2 separate regions of the Homo sapiens genome follow, and region 1 is linked to region 2. The links are contacts of gene promoters, found by promoter capture Hi-C in blood cells and fetal thymus (Javierre and others, 2016). All regions are on one chromosome and are shown on one strand. Each heading gives the region's core, a stretch centred on a gene start or on the middle of the fragment in contact. The rest is flanking DNA. Distances are from core to core; before and after follow the strand shown. Region 1 has its middle 110 kb from the start of PNPT1. Region 2 holds the start of EFEMP1 (EGF containing fibulin extracellular matrix protein 1).

Evidence for each region. The method cuts DNA at HindIII sites, captures the fragments that hold promoters and counts their contacts. A CHiCAGO score of 5 or more calls a contact.
Region 1: a contact is called between a fragment that was not itself captured here and the fragment with the promoter of EFEMP1 in region 2, in 1 of 17 cell types (M1 macrophages). The highest score is 5.4, in M1 macrophages.

What each region holds. Positions count from the first base shown.
Region 1 is chr2:55,802,306-55,805,159 of GRCh38, reverse strand. No RefSeq gene overlaps it. Among named protein-coding and RNA genes, the nearest start is that of PNPT1, 110 kb to the right of the region's middle. The HindIII fragment of the contact is 179 bases long and covers 1,388-1,566 here.
Region 2 is chr2:55,922,283-55,925,191 of GRCh38, reverse strand. It overlaps EFEMP1 (EGF containing fibulin extracellular matrix protein 1), which reads left to right and starts at 1,410. Exons shown (of 12, transcript NM_001039348.3): 1 at 1,410-1,481; 2 at 2,253-2,293; 3 at 2,745-2,832. The coding sequence starts at 2,752. RefSeq lists an enhancer at 1,351-1,850. The HindIII fragment of the contact is 8,249 bases long and covers 1-2,221 here.

The sequences.
Region 1 (2,854 bases), core at 228-2,727, 120 kb after region 2:
ACAAATGTGCCAATATCTTATTACAAAGAGGCTACCACCAAAGTAGATAAAAACTGCCTTTTATCAAACATCTGGCCCACATTACATCTCTAGAGTCCCTTTTCAATCAGCCACAGTGTTTTTTACAATTTTGTGATTTCATCAAATTGGCTGAGTCTCATGTGCTGCCTGCTACTACATTCTGAAGTGCCAGGCTGGTACCTAAGAGGAAAAATAACATTTTTCTTCACTCTTAACCCACATTCTGACTTCTCATGCTGAATTCAATCTTCAGCTAATTAGTTCAAGAGCAAGCAACTTTAACCGAGATTCGGTATTACTTTCCTGTTTCTGAGAGCTGGGCTTTCCCCAAATGTTGCTCTCTTGTTACCCTTTGCATTTTAAATGAAGCCATTTTGGAGCATAGCTCTTGTTTTTCCTTTAATATATGCACCCCTTGGGGCTGCGCTGAAGCTTTTGATGGCTCTCTGCCGGCAGTCAGGGCAACAGGACGTCTGCAAGACCCAGCTTTGTCCTGCAGTTGGCATTCATTGCACAGCCCAAGCTGAACAGGGACATTGCAAGTCAATTTTCTCAGAAATGCAGGGTCCCTAGTACTCTAACATAGAGTCTCGAATCTCACTTAGTTTCCACCATTTCATTTTGTTTTAAACATGTAGTATTTCCTTTATTGATAGTTTATGGAATAAAGTTATTCCACAGAAGTCAATTTTCAGATTAACTGAAAACTCAATGTAAGAGTTTGTTGGAAATTCTTTCTAAAATGTTAAATACTTTCCTTGGTCTCAAACAAGGTACACTAAATGTATCTAACTTTTTCTTGATGATTTAGGGTCATCTTTAAACTATCTCATTACATAGGGGTATAAAACAATAACAAATGCATAGAATGAGTTGCCCCTACATTAAATTGCCCCAGGCCACTATGCTTCCTTTGTTACTTTGGCAAATTTTTGTGTTTTATTTTTCTCTCCTTCTGTACTATCAAAGTATCCATAGTCATTCTGCACTGATGTTCTTGTATCAGTCTAGAAACAAACTTTGGGTTTATTGCCTCCAGTTTGCAGATGGCTAGAAACCTAAATAAACAAATCTGTTGCAACAACATCTCCATTAAAAATAAATCCGTTCTAGAGTTATAGGAGGTTCTATCTTCTCATGTAAATGCACGACATCTATTCTGGTTGTATAAAGGTCTTGAGGACTTAATTCCAGCTCATTATTCATATTCCACAGAAGAGAGGTTACCAAACACTTGTCTCTGGATATTTCACAGTTAAGTTCAGTGGTCAGCAATCAATTTGTTCACCATCAAAGTTCTCCTCTTTCCTGATTGTTCTTATCTTCTCTTTGTCTGATTCCTGCTTTGAGTCATTTTCAGTAAGCTTTACATTATCCACCAACAGGAAAGAAAGCATGAAGGAAAGAGCAAAACATTTTAATCTATGCAAATTGAACTTCAATTTTTTTTTTGGTGGGGGAAGCATGAAAGTACATTGAAATTTGAGATTATTTGAACATTTTATTTTTTTAATTTGCTTCTCACCAAAATGGAAGCCTGAAGCTTGGCTGTGACACAGGCACCTACCACTTTCTTTTTTTTTTTTTTTTTTTTTTTTTCTTTTTTTGAGACAGAGTCTCCCTCTGTCACCCAGGCTGGAATCCAATGGTGCAATCTCACCTCATTGCAACCTCTGCCTCCCGGGTTCTAAGCGATTCTCCTGCCTCAGCCTCCTGAGTAGCTGGGATTACAGCCATCTGCCACCATGTCTGGCTATTTTTTGTATTTTTAGTAGAGACAGGGTTTCGCCATGTTGGCCAGGCTAGTCTCGAACTCCTGACCTCAGGTGATCCACCTGCCTCGGCCTCCCAAAGTGCTGTGATTACAGGCGTGAGCCACCGCGCCCGGCCAACCACTCTTATATGTAGCATTCTGCCCTACTTATAAAAGTCTCAACCCCTTTGACTAAAATCCCAACAGCTTTTTGAAATGCCTGTTCAAGATGATCCAGGCCAAGTTGACTTGGAGTGTCAAAAGAGCCCCATAGAAATATAAAAGCTTTTATTCAACACCACACTGAATGATACTGGCACTGGTCAGGAATAGGATGACCAACTCAATCTGGTGTGCCAAGGACCATCCTAATTTGAAGTTGAAAGTCCCATGTCTTGGGAACTTTCTCAGTCCTAGGCAAATTGAGACAATTGGTCACCCTACTGGAAGGTGAACCCTCAAAGGTCTCTCGTGTTTTCCCCCAGGTGGAGCTTTTATCTTCAAAGCATTTCTAAGAATTCAAAGACATCCATCTTCTTCTTTTCTCTTTCTGCCAAGTCAGTCTGGCTAATTCTTTCTTAGAAACATGTCTAACATCAATCCCGTCTTTTCCTATTGCCACCAGTTTGGGCCTTTATCCTCTGGTCCTGGGTTACTTCCATGAAGTCTTCCTGTCTTCTCTCCAGTAAACATGCTACTCTCAGATTAATCTTTTTAAAACCCTGTTTTGCACAAGTTCCAGTTAAAGTCCCAGCTCTTCCATAAAGTCTGGCATCTTCCTGGGCAGGAGGGAACGAGTGAGCAGGGCAGAAGAAAGGCGTGGCAAGAGGTATCAGCTGCTCAGTGCTGGTAAGAGTGCTGCAGGGCCAGTGGAGGGATTATTACCTCCCAGAAGCTGCTAAGGAGCAAAATCAAGACAGGCTGCAGAGCAGAGACAGGCAGGGAACTAAGGTCAGTAATATAGAAAAGAGGTCTGAGTCAATCACCAAGCTAAGGAAGCCTAGCCACAGATATAAAACCCCATTATCAAGGTGAATACCCAAGAGCTTGGGTGCGCTGAGCCCAGCACAGGAGAAATAA
Region 2 (2,909 bases), core at 161-2,660:
TGAGTATCCCGCTGTGGAGACACGATCTCCTTTGATCCTTGCAGCAATGTGTAAGGTAAGTGGCATCATCTTCCTTCTATTAATGGTAGAACTGAAGATCAAAGAGAGTGTCTAACTTGCTTAGGGCTACATAGCCAAGTGGTGAAGCTAAACTCAGTCTAGGCTTACTTGATAGTACACTAACATTAAATGTCTAGGAGTAAATATCTAAAACAAACTGTAAGTCTTCTCTATTTACCATACAAATTATTCAAGTGAACTGCCATTTTTGCCTGGCTTGAAAGATACTTTTCAGAAGAATGGGCTCATATACACATGCACGCGCGCACACACACACACACAATGGAATACTATTTAGCCTTAAAAACGCATATATATCTAAAATATATGTGTGTACATATTTTATATATATATGTGTTTATATATATAATATATATTATATTTGTATACACACACACATATATGCCACATTTTCTTTATCCATTTATCCCTTGATGGACACTTAGGTTGATTCCATATCTTGGCAATTGTGAATAGTGCTGCAATAAACATGAAAGTACAGACGTCTCTTCAACACACTGATTTCAAATCTTCCCAGTAAATACCCAGAAATGAGATTGCTGGATCATATGATAATTCTACTTTCAGTTTTTTGAGAAACCTCCATACAATTTTCCATCATGTTTGTACTAATTTACATTCCACCAACAGCATACAAGCATTCCCTTTTCTCCATTCTTGCCAACACTTGTTATCATAAAGGGAGGTTTGAGAGACCATAAAACAAACCCCACCTCACAATTTTGTTAGTGCAAGTTCTATTTGGCCTATTCCCAACACTAAGCACACAGTAGGTGGCAAATATTTGTTGAATGGATGAATTCTCATTTTTCTCCATTTGTGGAAGCAGACACCTCCTCAAAAAAAAAAAAAAATCCGAAAGAAAAGGTAAAGGAAACAGTTCTATGAATGGGGGTTAATTTACTCTCCTAGCATTCACTTATTGGGAAAAAAAGTAACAGCAGTTTCTAGAACCCTCTGGTCTCTGAGGGAGATGCTGTGTTCCCCTCCTCAGAGAAGAAGAAAACGCACTAGAGAGTGGGAGCATCCCCAAGGCTGAAGCGCATCCAGGACATCACATGTCAACGTGTCCTCTCTGGCGTGGGGTCCCCGCGAGTCTGGGAAACGAGGAGCTGGCAAGGGAGGGCAAGCGGGGGCGGCAAAGAGGGCCCCTGGAGCAGGGGGCGCGGACCTCGCTGCGCTGCGCGCTCTACCGCCGGGCTCGCAACGCTGGGCTCAGCGCTCGCGCCTCCCTCAGCTCTCTCCTCCGCCCCCCTTCGCCCTCCCCCTTTCCCTCCCTTTCTCCTCCTCCTCCTGCCGCCGCGGCCGCTGCCGGACTTCGCCAGATCAGACCCACGGGGCTGCCCTCCCCTGCGCACTCCCCTCGCTGCCCGGGCCCGGAGCGCAGCGCGGCCGCACAGGTAGGAGCCCCCAACGGGGGGTCGCCCCGAGCGAGCCCAGTACTCACTGGGCCGCGCGCGGGAGAGTGAGGTGGGGTGAGCTGAGGGGTGTTGAGTACCCGAGAACTGCCCTGGACTGTGCAGGGTGTCTCGGGCAGAGAGGGAGGTGGAGGTGTGCAGCCTCGGAATGCGATCTGTCAGCAAGTGCGAGTACTCGGGTGACATCTGTTGGGATGGGCATGTGTGTGCGCGCCGACAACCAGCCGGCAGGGCTTTGCCCATAAACGTGGTTTTGAAAGTTTAGGGGACCAGTGTGCGAGATTTAAGCCGCACCTGGATTCCATAGGAGCTGGTTAGAAGCTGGGACGCTGAGCAGCTCCAGGGGACCGCCGCGTTAGCTTGCTGTTAAGAAAGGGGACCTCATCTCCCTGCCGGGCCAGGCCGCCCGCCCGAAACTGGTACCTTGGGCTGCGGTGCGATCCCTGGTTCCGGTCCTAGGCAGCCTGAAACCGAAGGTAGCGTGTCGGGGACCCAGACTGATAAGACAAAAGAGAATCAGTCGCTTTGGGCTGCCCCTCCACACAACCTGGGACTTTTAAACAAAGCTGTGCGCAGAGAAAGGCGTGGAAATGCCACTTTGAGAGTTTGTGCTGGGGGATGTGAGAAGCTCTGAGACATGTGAGAAGGTCTAGTATTCTACTAGAACTGGAAGATTGCTCTCCGAGTTTTGTTTTGTTATTTTGTTTAAAAAATAAAAAGCTTGAGGCCAAGGCAATTCATATTGGCTCACAGGTATTTTTGCTGTGCTGTGCAAGGAACTCTGCTAGCTCAAGGTGAGTATACTGGGAAAGCCTTAACGTTCTAGAGAACAGAGTTTTGCAGCCCCACCTCCATCCCCCGGGGTGTGGGACTGGGGGGCAGGAAATGCACCGTCCCCTTTGAAATGGATTACTGTTTTTTCCTTTCGACCCCCTCTTTCTGCAGCCTGCTTTGTAGGTGCAGTATAAAATGCACGCTGAATGTCTTTTGTATGTAAACAGCGTAGCAGGATGGAGTAACGTGAAATGCAATTCTACAGCAGTTTTTACGTCTTTGCTGCCTCGTTCGTTGGCTACCGAGAAGGTTCAGGAGGGGGAGGGGAGATGAGAAAGCAGATTGGAAGTTGAGTATGGTGGAGCCTCAGCCTCTCCCACCCTCCTTTCCTCGCTTGTGCTCACTGCTAAAGTTTTGTTACTTTCCCCGCAGCAGATACTAAACATTAGTTTGTCCTGTATTTTCTTTGAGATTCACAATGTTGAAAGCCCTTTTCCTAACTATGCTGACTCTGGCGCTGGTCAAGTCACAGGACACCGAAGAAACCATCACGTACACGGTAAGGGGTGATGGAATTTGAAATAAGTACGGTTCAGCGGGATTCTGTGACAAAAAAAGACTTTACACACCCCTGCC